3 separate regions of the Homo sapiens genome follow, and regions 1 and 2 are each linked to region 3. The links are contacts of gene promoters, found by promoter capture Hi-C in blood cells and fetal thymus (Javierre and others, 2016). All regions are on one chromosome and are shown on one strand. Each heading gives the region's core, a stretch centred on a gene start or on the middle of the fragment in contact. The rest is flanking DNA. Distances are from core to core; before and after follow the strand shown.

Region 1 (2,822 bases), core at 323-2,822, 580 kb before region 3:
TCCGGTGTTTTGGAAGCTTTGTACAATAACAACTTTTTTTTTTTTTTCAAATGAACTGAATTTTAAATGAAGAAGTAAACTAACTTTTCTTTAAATGGATTTGGTTTTAATTCTTAGGAAATTAATGACCTGTCTATTGTTCATTGCTTAAATAGGAATGCAGAATTATAGACATTAAACATAAAATCCCAATTATTAGTAAATGTGACATGGCACTGCTTCCTTTTCACTCTGACAGAGTGAAACATGAGAAGATGGGGGTTGGGGGAATCTCAACGGAAATATCACTCACACCAAGAAAAATAGAACTGATGTAATCCTGTTTGCAGCGTGAGTTAACCTGCAACTGATTTTGTTTTACAGATGGTTTTATCATTAGCGTCTGAACTCAGAGAGAATCATCTTAATGGATTTAACACTCAAAGGCGGTAGGTGTTAAACTAAACATCCTTCTTCTCAGGTTTCAAAATGTATCAGTTTGGTTATGAGAGGAAAATTTTACAATTCATAGGAAATGGATGTTCAGTTATGGTTGTATTTTATATAGAAAGATTATTTTAGTGGAATACATAGCAAATTGGTGAGTTTTTTCAAACTCTTTTAAAAATCACTATTTTCTCAACTCTCACAGAGCAGTAAGTAAATCATACAATGTCTTTTGTGGGCCCATTAGGTAGAAAGCCCTACATACACAGTAGGGAGCATAAAAGAAAGAGCAGTACTTAGTTTTACCCTGGGATTGCTCACTCTGCAAGAGGAGAATGTGCACAGATGCAAGTGTATGCTCTCACACTAGCCTGCCCTGGCTCTGCCTTCTTCTGCTCCCAACACACACACACACACACACACACACACACACACACACACACGATATTTACAAGGCAACATTTGATGTGAACATATGCCCTATTTTAAGAAACATGATATTCCAAAATCTAGACTAAACAAATCAAAGAGATTCAGACAAATTAAAAGGCAATTAATCACATTACAAATGTTTCTTCACTCTGTAAAAGAATCTCAGTTTTCATTGGTGGGCATTTCATTTTTGACATATCATTAACCAAGAGAATCTGGGACTGAGGGACTTGGTGATTTTTTTTTTTTTTTGTAAAGCTATTGCTAATTCAAGCTCTATCAGAAATTGTCTTTGTCCTCAACCTTTAGGAATCCTTTGCACCTAACCCTTAAACTATATAATTATTAGAGGAAAACATTGGAGATAATCTTCATTATGTTGGATTTGGCAATGTAAGAAGAACCATAGGAGACATGGAGAGTGTTTAGATTTATTTATTTACATGTCAGGTAAAGACTTGGATTTGGTTGTGAGGTGAATGTTGACTGATGGATCTTTTGAATTATGTAATTATAAATTTATTCAAAAAGACCTTAAAAATCAGTCAGTGCAGTGTGTATGTACTCCCTACACCAAACTCCCAAAATATGCATCACAGTTGATTTTTTAAAAAGCAGCTGACAATAAACAAAATAATTTTTAAAATCTGTTAACAAATAGAAACAAAGGATCAGAATGCAAAATATAGAAATGACTTGCAAAAATAAATCATAAAGAGGCAAACACTCCGTTATAGAAATGAGCAAGGAATATAAGCAGGTCATTACTAGAAGATGAAAACTGAATTAATAATAACATTAAAGGCGTTCTTCAGGAATGACATCAGCAAGATGGCAGAATAGGAAGTCCTAGACCTTATTTTCCAGTAGAGACATTGACTTAACTACAGCATACATCCCAAAAAATTATAGTGAGAACTACAGAACCAATTAAGAAGTCACAGTACTGCAGGCAAGCTCAAAGTCTAGAATAGCCACATTGAAATTGATTAAACAATCTGTTTCATGTCAACTGTGATAGCCCTTTTCCAGGTCTGGCAGCTTGGTGAGATTGGTAGGAAAAACCCAGCTTGTGGCTTCTCTTCCTTGGGAGGGAAAAAGAAGAGTGGAATGTGCATCCAACATTCTCACTTTTTAGGAAGCAGACTGAGGAACTGATTTCTGTCTCTACTGACCGGGAGCACTGATGAGGAAATCGCATACAGTAATCCCTCCTTATCTATAGGGAATATATTTCAAGACACCCAGTGGATGTCTGAAACTGTGGATAGTACCAAACCTGATTGCCACCAATCATAACACATTTCTGTATTCCACTCACAACTTTAATGTCTTTTCCATCGTAACTAAGCACTTATCATATATGATGGCTGTAATTTTTGCCATGTGAGATGCAACGACAAAACTAACAGAAATTTTTTTCCTTCTTTACAATTTCACAGATAGATGATTTGTTTTTACTATAGATCTCAGCAACCTCAGCATATGATTTTTTTCTTTCCTTATTAAGTTGAAAACTTTCACCTTTTCACTTAAAGAAAGCACTTTACAACTTCTCTGTGGCATATCCAAATTGCCAGCCCCAGTGCTCTTGGACTTTGAGGTCATTATTAAGTATTAATAAAATAAGAGTTACTTGAACACAAGCACAGTGATACTGTGACAGTTGATCTGACAACCAGTATGGCTACTAAGTGACTAACGAGCAGGTAGTGTATATATTATGGATACCCTGGGTAAAGGGATGATTCATGTTCCAGATGGGACAGAGTGGGACAGCATGAGATTTCATCATGCTACTCAGAACAGTACACAATTTAGGCCAGGTGCGGTGGCACATGCCTTTAATCCCAGCACTTTGGGAGGCTGAAGTAGGTAGATCACCCGATTTCAGGAGTTCAAGACGAGCCTGGCCAACATGTCAAAACCGCATCTCTACTAAAAGTACAAATTAGCTGGGCGTG
Region 2 (3,782 bases), core at 717-3,216, 550 kb before region 3:
TTTTTTTTTTTTGAGATGGGGTCTCACTCTGTCACATAGGCTGGAGTGCAGTGGTGCAGTCTTGGCTCACTGTAGTCTCAAACTCCCAGGCTCAGGCGATCCTCCCACCTCAGCCTCCTGAGTAGCTGGGACCACAGGTGTGTGCTACCATGCCTGGCTAATTTTTTGTATTTTCGGTAGAGACGGCATTTCACCATGTTGCCTAGGCTGGTCTTGAACTCCTGGGCTCAAGGAGTCTGCCTGTCTTGGCCTCCCAAAATGTTGGGATTATAGGCATGAGCCACTGTGACAGGCCCAATTCTTTATTTAAATACTTTCAGTGAGAAATTGGAGAATTGTTACATATGTAGACCCTTCCTTGCTATACAATGCATTTTAAAAAAACAAAACTACAATACCATTATTACATCTTAAAATTGACATTAGTTCCTTATCATCATCACATATCTAGTCAGGAATTAAATTATCCTGATTGTCTTAGAATTTTTCTTCCAGTTGGTTTGTTAGAATCAGAGTTCAAATAAAAAAAAATAAAGAATCAGAGTTCAGATCTACACATTGCCTTTGGTTTATGGTTCTTTTAAGTCTCTTTCAATCCCTCTTTGTTTTTTGTTTTGAAATTATTTGTTGAAATAATACGGTTGTTTTCCCCGTTCTCCGGTGGTAAAGCATGTCCGCCCTCTTGAGTGTGATAAAGGGTGCGTGCCTCTGGAGCACAGTCCTGTGGGCTTAGGTGGTTCCCTTGTCACATTCTCAGTTCTCACATAGTCAGGCCTGTTTTGTTACCTTCTGTTCTGGTTCTCTGGTCTCTTGCATGTGCGTGCGGCAGTATCACTGCTTTAGTGCTGGCATCAACTGTGTTCAATACAAAATAAGGATCATTCCCTTTGATTTCTCTTCTTTACTAGGGTTGTTATTAGTTTGTTTTGCTATCATTGCTTGTCTTATATTCCACATAAACTTTGAAACCAATTTTTCTAGTTGCAGGGAAGACACCCAGTGTTGTTGGGGGAAGACTCCTGTAAGTATATAGATTATCGAGAGAGCTGGCGTTTTCATGATGTTAAGGCTGTCTGTCCGCCTGTTCAAGAACACATACGTTTTACCATTTGTTAAGCTTTTGTGATCTGAAGGGAGTGTTGTATATATTTTTCACACATTGGATTTACACATTTCTTGTTCCTAATGTTTTGTTGTATTTGTGTTTTCAATGTTTTCACTGTCATAAATGGATCTTCTCCTCCATCTTCAAATAGATTTTCATTGTGTTGTTTGTTGCGTTTGGAAAACAAAACAGGCTCAAAACCACCGTTGTTCTTACAGTTCAGAGTATTTCCATTTTTTAAATCTATAACTCTTAAAAATTAGGATACATATTTTAATTTCAGTTTATATGAAAGGTTATAATCCAGGATTTTGTGAAAGTGAGATTTAAAAAGAGAATTAGAAGATTAAGTCACTTGATTCGAAAAATGGTCAAAATGCAGGTTTCATGGCTAAAAAAATAAAATGGCCTTTTTTCTACCTACTCTTAAACCTTCTGTCAAAATTCACCCAGTAAGTGGAGTGAGCTTTCTGAGGAGTCCGAGCGTTATGTTTGGTCCTTATGTGAGATACTGAGTAAAGGGCGTTGTGAACGTGCGGCGCGGCGCTCGATTCTTTCCTTACAGTGCCCAACACCCGCAATGGAGCACACGCTTCACGGCCCCACCACTGATCACACCAACTGGCATTTTTACTCTCCACGGCGATTTTTCAAAATACTTACAAAGAATATTTAACTAAAATGCTCTTGCCTTTCACTGTGGCAGCTCCCTTCTTGATTCATCTAGGAATATATTTCACAGGAGAATATGGTCTCAGCCACCCCCGTGTCTAGCCTTACTCTTTCAGCAAGAGCTGAATTAAAGGGAATCTGGAAGTGAATACTCCTGGTCTTCTGTGAAACCCCAAAAGCTGTTTGAGAAATCACTGGCCAGGCGACGTGCCCAGAGAACAGCTACTCCTGCTCTAGCACAGTGCTCAGAGGGACGCTGAGGGCAGCGGCTCCCCAAGCAGGCCCACACTCCCTTGCTTGTAATTTTGCTTGTGATAGCATGTTCTCCCTCAACAACTCATAAAATTTATTTGGTTTGGAAAGTTATGTCTGCTAATCCATAAGGGACAGACTGTCCAGAAGTGCTGGGTGGTCTTCAGTGTGTCCAAATCCTGTGGCTTCAGCTCAGCAAGTTCCCCAAGCAGTGGCGTAAGAGCTGGAGCCTCTCCATGGACACTTTCCCGTAGGCGGAACATCCCAGCCACATGTTGACACAGCGAGGCTGATCCAATCAATCAGTGCAAATTACCAGCCGCGCCCAGCCCCCCCTCCCCAGATGTGCTGCGTGGTCATTTGGAAACCACATGCTTTCTTTGACCAATGCACTCTAACCCGTGTTTAGCCTTCCAACTATTTGCTTACCACAGTACACCAGTGGAATTTCATCTGTTTGACAATTGGCTGGTGTCTTTGGTCTTGGCTTCCAAATGCAGTCATATATTTTCAGCAGTGGTCTGCCTGTCTTTTAAACAGCAGATGCTTGCCCCTCTTTATGGTTTAGATAACCTAGAGGAACTTTTAAATTTCTTGGCCTAAATGTCAACTTTTCATGTCTGTCCCTGGGGCTGCCGTCATAGGCACCTGCAGGCTAAAGACGGCATAAAACCTTCCTGGGCGGGCTGCTGAGGTCCTTTTGTAAGTCTGGAGTATAAGTAATACAGCATGACATGTCCTCTGAGGTCATCCGAATCCACTGCTTCAAAAATACTGAGAAGCTTGAAGACTGGATGGAGAATTTGTTCTATATGCCTGAATGAATGAGACACTGAACAAGTGAAAAAAAGAATGAAGGCATGACGGTGATCTCGTGATATAATAAGAAATGTGCATTTGGTCTTCATCCAGGCTCCTAAAACCCTTGAAATTTCCTGAGTGATGAGGTGAGAAGAGCATCTTTTATTATTCATAAGTCCCTTTTCACCACACCTGAGTGTAGGCTAATGAAGTGACTCCTGGTGGGCCCCCAGATAGCCTCGGGATGGGGGCTGGTAGCCAAAGGAACCAACCACACCTGACCCCCAGAGTTCGACCTGATCACTACTGGCCAGCGATTTAATCAGTCGTGCTTACATTGTGAGACCTCCATAAAAAACCTAAACTGTGGGGTTCAAATAGCTTCCAGATTGGTGGTCACATCCAGGTGCTGGGAAGGTGACGTGCCTGGAGAGGGCCTGGAAGCTCAGAACTTTCCCCCAGGCCTGGCCCCATGCATCTCTTCCATGTGGCTGTTCCTGAATTGTATCTTTCAGAATAAATTGGTAATGGCAAGTAAAGTGTCTTCCTGAGTTCTGTGAGCCATTCTAGCAAATTATCAAACCTGAAGAGAGGATCATTGGAACCTCTGATTTTATAGCTAGTTGGTCAGAAGAATGAGAGGCCTAGACCTGTGATTGGCATCTGAAGTGGGGGCAGTCTTGTGGGACTGAGCCCTTAACCTGTGGGGTGTGTGCTAATGCCAGATGGTGTCAGAATTGAATCACTGGACACCCAGTTGGTGTCTAGAGAGTTGGGAGCATTGGTTTGTGTGGAGGAAGAAAATCCACACAGTGAGTGTGAGAAGTGCTCTGTGAGTAAAAACAGCTTCTAAGTAGTGGGAGTGACTGACATACGAGTCTCTGACCACTCTAACACTCGCAGCTCGGGGTGGCTCTGAGTGTTAAATAGGGTGGCCATATGATTTAAAATC
Region 3 (4,109 bases), core at 111-2,610:
TCAGAGAAATGTGCATGTTGTACTGTTTTGTGAAATGAGATTATGTATGATTGCACAATAGTTGTGAGCACATTGAAAGACTGGAAGGGCGGCTGGGCGTGATGGCTCACGCCTGTAATCCCAGCACTTTGGGAGGCCGAGGCGGGCGGATCACGAGGTCAGGAAATCGAGACCATCCTGGCTAACACGGTGAAACCCCGTCTCTACTAAAAATACAAAAAATTAGCCAAGCGTCGTGGCAGGCGCCTGTAGTCCCAGCTACTCGGGAGGCTGAGGCAGGAGAATAGCGTGAACCTGGAAGGCGGAGCTTGCAGTGAGCCGAGATCACGCCACTGCACTCCAGCCTGGGCGACAGAGTGAGACTCCATCTCAAAAAAAAAAAAAAAAAAAAAAAAAAAAACTGGAAGGGCAATAATAGGTAACAAAGTACTGAGCACCTACTATACTAGGTACATCTCATTGCAGCCACTCTATAAGATGGATGCTTCACGGTTATGCTCATTTAAGAGTGAGACAACTGAGGTTCCAAGGGGTTTAATAACTTTCTCAAATCATGCAACCAACAGATAGCTAGCTTGGGACTCACAGCCAGGTCTGGCTGGCCCTAGAGAAAGTGCTTCCACCACCATATGCACCCCACCAGTGCCTACTGGCTGCACAGACCGCCACCAGCCCTAGCAGCAGTGATTTCTGGAGAGTGGGATGGGAGAATGGGCTGGTGGTGAGGAGGTTTGTCTTTATCCACTTCTTTAGTGTTTCCTTTTTAACAAGCAATTTTTGTTACAAAAGTGGACATCCAGAGATATTGACAAAATAACACTGGTGCCAGGAACTGTGCTAGGAATATAATAGTTTTCTTCCGGATCTGGATCTCTACTGTGGATATCCACTGGTCATACATGCCTACTGGAAATAAAAAGCATTCTTTCCTAACTTATTCCAAACCCTGGCTAAAGGAATTCTGGGGTTGCCATTATGTTACTATGTGACCTACGTCCCAGATAAGGAACCTGCGAATCTGCCACCTCCGCCCTCGGGAGAGCCAGGCCCTGCAGTCACTATATGTGAAGAATCCTTTGGAGCCTGGAATAAGAGGGTTTTATGCATCATTTTTTAATCAACTGGATTTCTCACCTCCCACCTGTGCCTAAATGGTGGCTTCTTGGTATCTTGAAAGGGGGTGCTCAGCAGGAGAAAGCAGCTCCATGTTTCTGGGCAGCCCGTCCTATTTACAGACTGCTGCGGCTCCCTGGCAGCTGCCACAGTCCCCGAGGCCAGAGGGAGTTCCTTGAGGGCCCCAGCAGTTGTTTGAGTCATGTGTTTTGGGCCCTTTTCCTTAGAGATCCTGGCAGGGCCAGCACAGATTTCTTATCGGCTTCCACACTGCGGAGCTGCAGCCCTCAGAAGTAAGCAAGGTTTCCTGCCGGGAGAAAAGGATTTGAAGCATTCCAGCCAAAATGACGGACAGAAGCCCCTTCGAAACCGACATGCTCACCCTGACCCGCTACGTTATGGAAAAGGGGCGTCAGGCCAAAGGGACTGGGGAGCTCACCCAGCTGCTGAACTCAATGCTGACGGCCATCAAAGCCATCTCCTCGGCTGTGCGCAAGGCCGGTCTGGCCCACCTGTGAGTCCTGGGGAGCAGGCATGGGGCACAGAGCACCCCAGGCCCAGGCAGGGGTGTGGGAGCTGCAGGTGCTTTGGCAAGAAACTGGGTCCAAAGCTTATTGGCCCTGTGTGCCCTAGATGGAAGCTGCATTTCAAGTTCCTATCATGTGTGCTTTGATAAAGGGGCCTTTGACTTGTTTTGAGAAAGGAACGAAAACATGCTATGAAGAAATACACATATAATTTTTCCAGTTATTATAATGATACCAAGTGCAGTGGCTTGTTGCATTAAAATATGTATTGTGTTATCATGACTTGTACTTGCACAGAGAGAGTCTCACTGGAACAAAGAAGTAGAGGGGTGACGTGAAATATCTCTTTATGCCTCTTGCAGACATGAGTGTTTTATTGTAATAAGCTTTGCAAATATGTTAGGAGCTGGAAATTATGTACGACATAGGAAGCTTGGTAGAGCCCCTTCCTGCATCTGCTCTCTCATCATCTAAAGGAGTGTTTTGCTGGCTACGTGTTTTATTTCTTCTCTGTGACTCTTTCTTTATCTTCACCTCCACTTGGTGTGCAGGAAGCCGGGAGGTGCTAGTCCTGGGAGGGGAGCGCAGAGGTTTCTTCCACAGGGTTCTCTTTGGTGCTTTATCCGAGCATAGATGAGGCCAGGTTCACATTACACTGCTGATGGTCACAGCCCAGTGTCCAGTTTAAGTCTGTAATAAAAAGAATCCGGTGGCCAGGCACGGTGGCTCCTGTCTGTAATCCTGGCACTTTGGGAGGCCAAGGTGGGTGGATCATGAGGTCAAGAGATCAAGACCATCCTGGCCAACATGTTGAAACCCTGTCTCTACTAAAAATACAAAAATTAGTTGGGTGTGGTGGCGGGCGCCTGTAGTCCCGGCTACTCGGGAGGCTGAGGCAGGAGAATCGCTTGAACCTGGGAGATGGAGGTTGCGGTGAGTCGAGATCGTACCACTGCACTCCAGCCTGGGTGACAGGACGAGATTCCATCTCAAAACATACAAACAAACAAACAAAACCCCAGCTTTCTTTGGGCTTCCCTTGTAGTAATTCCAGGGGAGGTCCTCTCAGGAGCTGAAGGAACACATATTTTGGGGATGAAAGAGACTCAAAATGAGGAGCTAACAAAGTCCAATCATTTAAAATATTTACTCTGAGCAATTAAGTGCTTTTAACACAAAAAGTGATAGCATTAGATTACAAGATGTAATTATCATTTGATCACCACAGACTGTATTTATTTAGGGGTGGTGACCCAGTAGCAGGACCCAGGTTAACGGTGCATTATCCTTGCTTTTTTCCTGTGGGTGGATGCTTCAGCTCTGTTTTTACCTCATTTGGCAATAACAGCCACGCTCTGCATTTAATCGCCTTCCAGAATGTGAGGGCAGGCGGTGCCCTGTTCTGCTCCTGTGGGTGACAGCCCTGCTGAGTGACGGTAGACAGGGACTTTGCCTCTCCCTGTGCGGACCCTGCTATCCTCAATGCGGTTGCCTGAGTCCATCTCAGGGTGATTCATCCACATAAATTGGGCTCCCCCTCTGTGCAGGGCTCTTGGCTAGGCAGTGGCTGCCATGGTAGGGGTCTTGCTTATCTGCTGCAAAACTCTGACTTTATGGCGGTTGAGCAAGGAGACAAAGTGGCCCTAGGAACTGGATAATTGAGGTGCTTATTAATTTGGCATTTCCTACCGTGTGATAATGGGCGTGATTTACTCTTGCTAGGACCTTAGATTCCCTTTGTGAAATGGAGAGTATAGTAGCATCCCTAACTCTTAGGGTTGTTGCAGAGTTAGCGAGCGCATGTGATGACGATTTCAACTGTGCCGGCCCCGTAAGACACGCACAGTGCCTGTCACTACCGCGGTTCCAAGCCCAGACCAGATTTGCCTGTGCCTGAGCCGTCAATGACCACTGGCGGCATTTGAGGAGCCTTTCAGCCCCCCACTGCACTGTGGGAGCCACTTTCTGGGCTGGCCAAGGCTGGAGCCCACTCCCTCAGCTTTCAGGGAGGTGTGGAGGGAGAGGTGCGAGCGGGAACTGGGGCTGCGTGCGGCGCTTGCGGGCCAGCTGGAGTTCCGGGTGGGCGTGGGCTTGGCGGGCCCGCACTCCGAGCAGCCAGCCAGCCCTGCTGGCCCCCGGCAATGGGGGACTTAGCACCCGGGCCAGTGGCTGCGGAGGGTGTACTGAGTCCCCCAGCAGTGCTGGCCCACTGGCGCTGCGCTCGATTTCTCGCTGGGCCTTAGGTGCCTTCCCGCGGGGCAGGGCTCGGGACCTGCAGCCCGCCATGCCTGAGCCTCCCATCCACTCCATGGGCTCCTGTGCGGCCCGAGCCTCCCCGACGAGCGCCACCCCCCGCTCCACAGCGCTCAGTCCCATCGACCACCCAAGGGCTGAGGAATGCGCGCGCACGGCGCAGGACTGGCAGGCAGCTCCACCTGCAGCCCCGGTGCGGGATCCACTAGGTGAAGC

What was found. Contacts are between HindIII fragments. The CHiCAGO score rates a contact against its expected background, and 5 or more counts as called.
Region 1: a fragment that was not itself captured here is called in contact with the fragment with the promoter of FBP2 in region 3 in 1 of 17 cell types (monocytes); the score reaches 5.2 in monocytes.
Region 2: a contact is called between a fragment that was not itself captured here and the fragment with the promoter of FBP2 in region 3, in 1 of 17 cell types (M0 macrophages). The highest score is 5.8, in M0 macrophages.

What each region holds. Positions count from the first base shown.
Region 1 is chr9:95,168,685-95,171,506 of GRCh38, reverse strand. FANCC (FA complementation group C) reads left to right here. Exons shown (of 15, transcript NM_000136.3): 6 at 364-428. Among named protein-coding and RNA genes, the nearest start is that of MIR3074, 84 kb to the right of the region's middle. The HindIII fragment of the contact is 3,108 bases long and covers 19-2,822 here.
Region 2 is chr9:95,142,718-95,146,499 of GRCh38, reverse strand. The region is part of intron 7 of FANCC (FA complementation group C); the gene reads left to right. It also overlaps a transcript of AOPEP not described here. Among named protein-coding and RNA genes, the nearest start is that of MIR3074, 59 kb to the right of the region's middle. The HindIII fragment of the contact is 1,694 bases long and covers 1,120-2,813 here.
Region 3 is chr9:94,591,075-94,595,183 of GRCh38, reverse strand. FBP2 (fructose-bisphosphatase 2) reads left to right here and starts at 1,360. Exons shown (of 7, transcript NM_003837.4): 1 at 1,360-1,627. The coding sequence starts at 1,458. RefSeq lists an enhancer at 3,351-3,893. The HindIII fragment of the contact is 4,350 bases long and covers 1-1,725 here.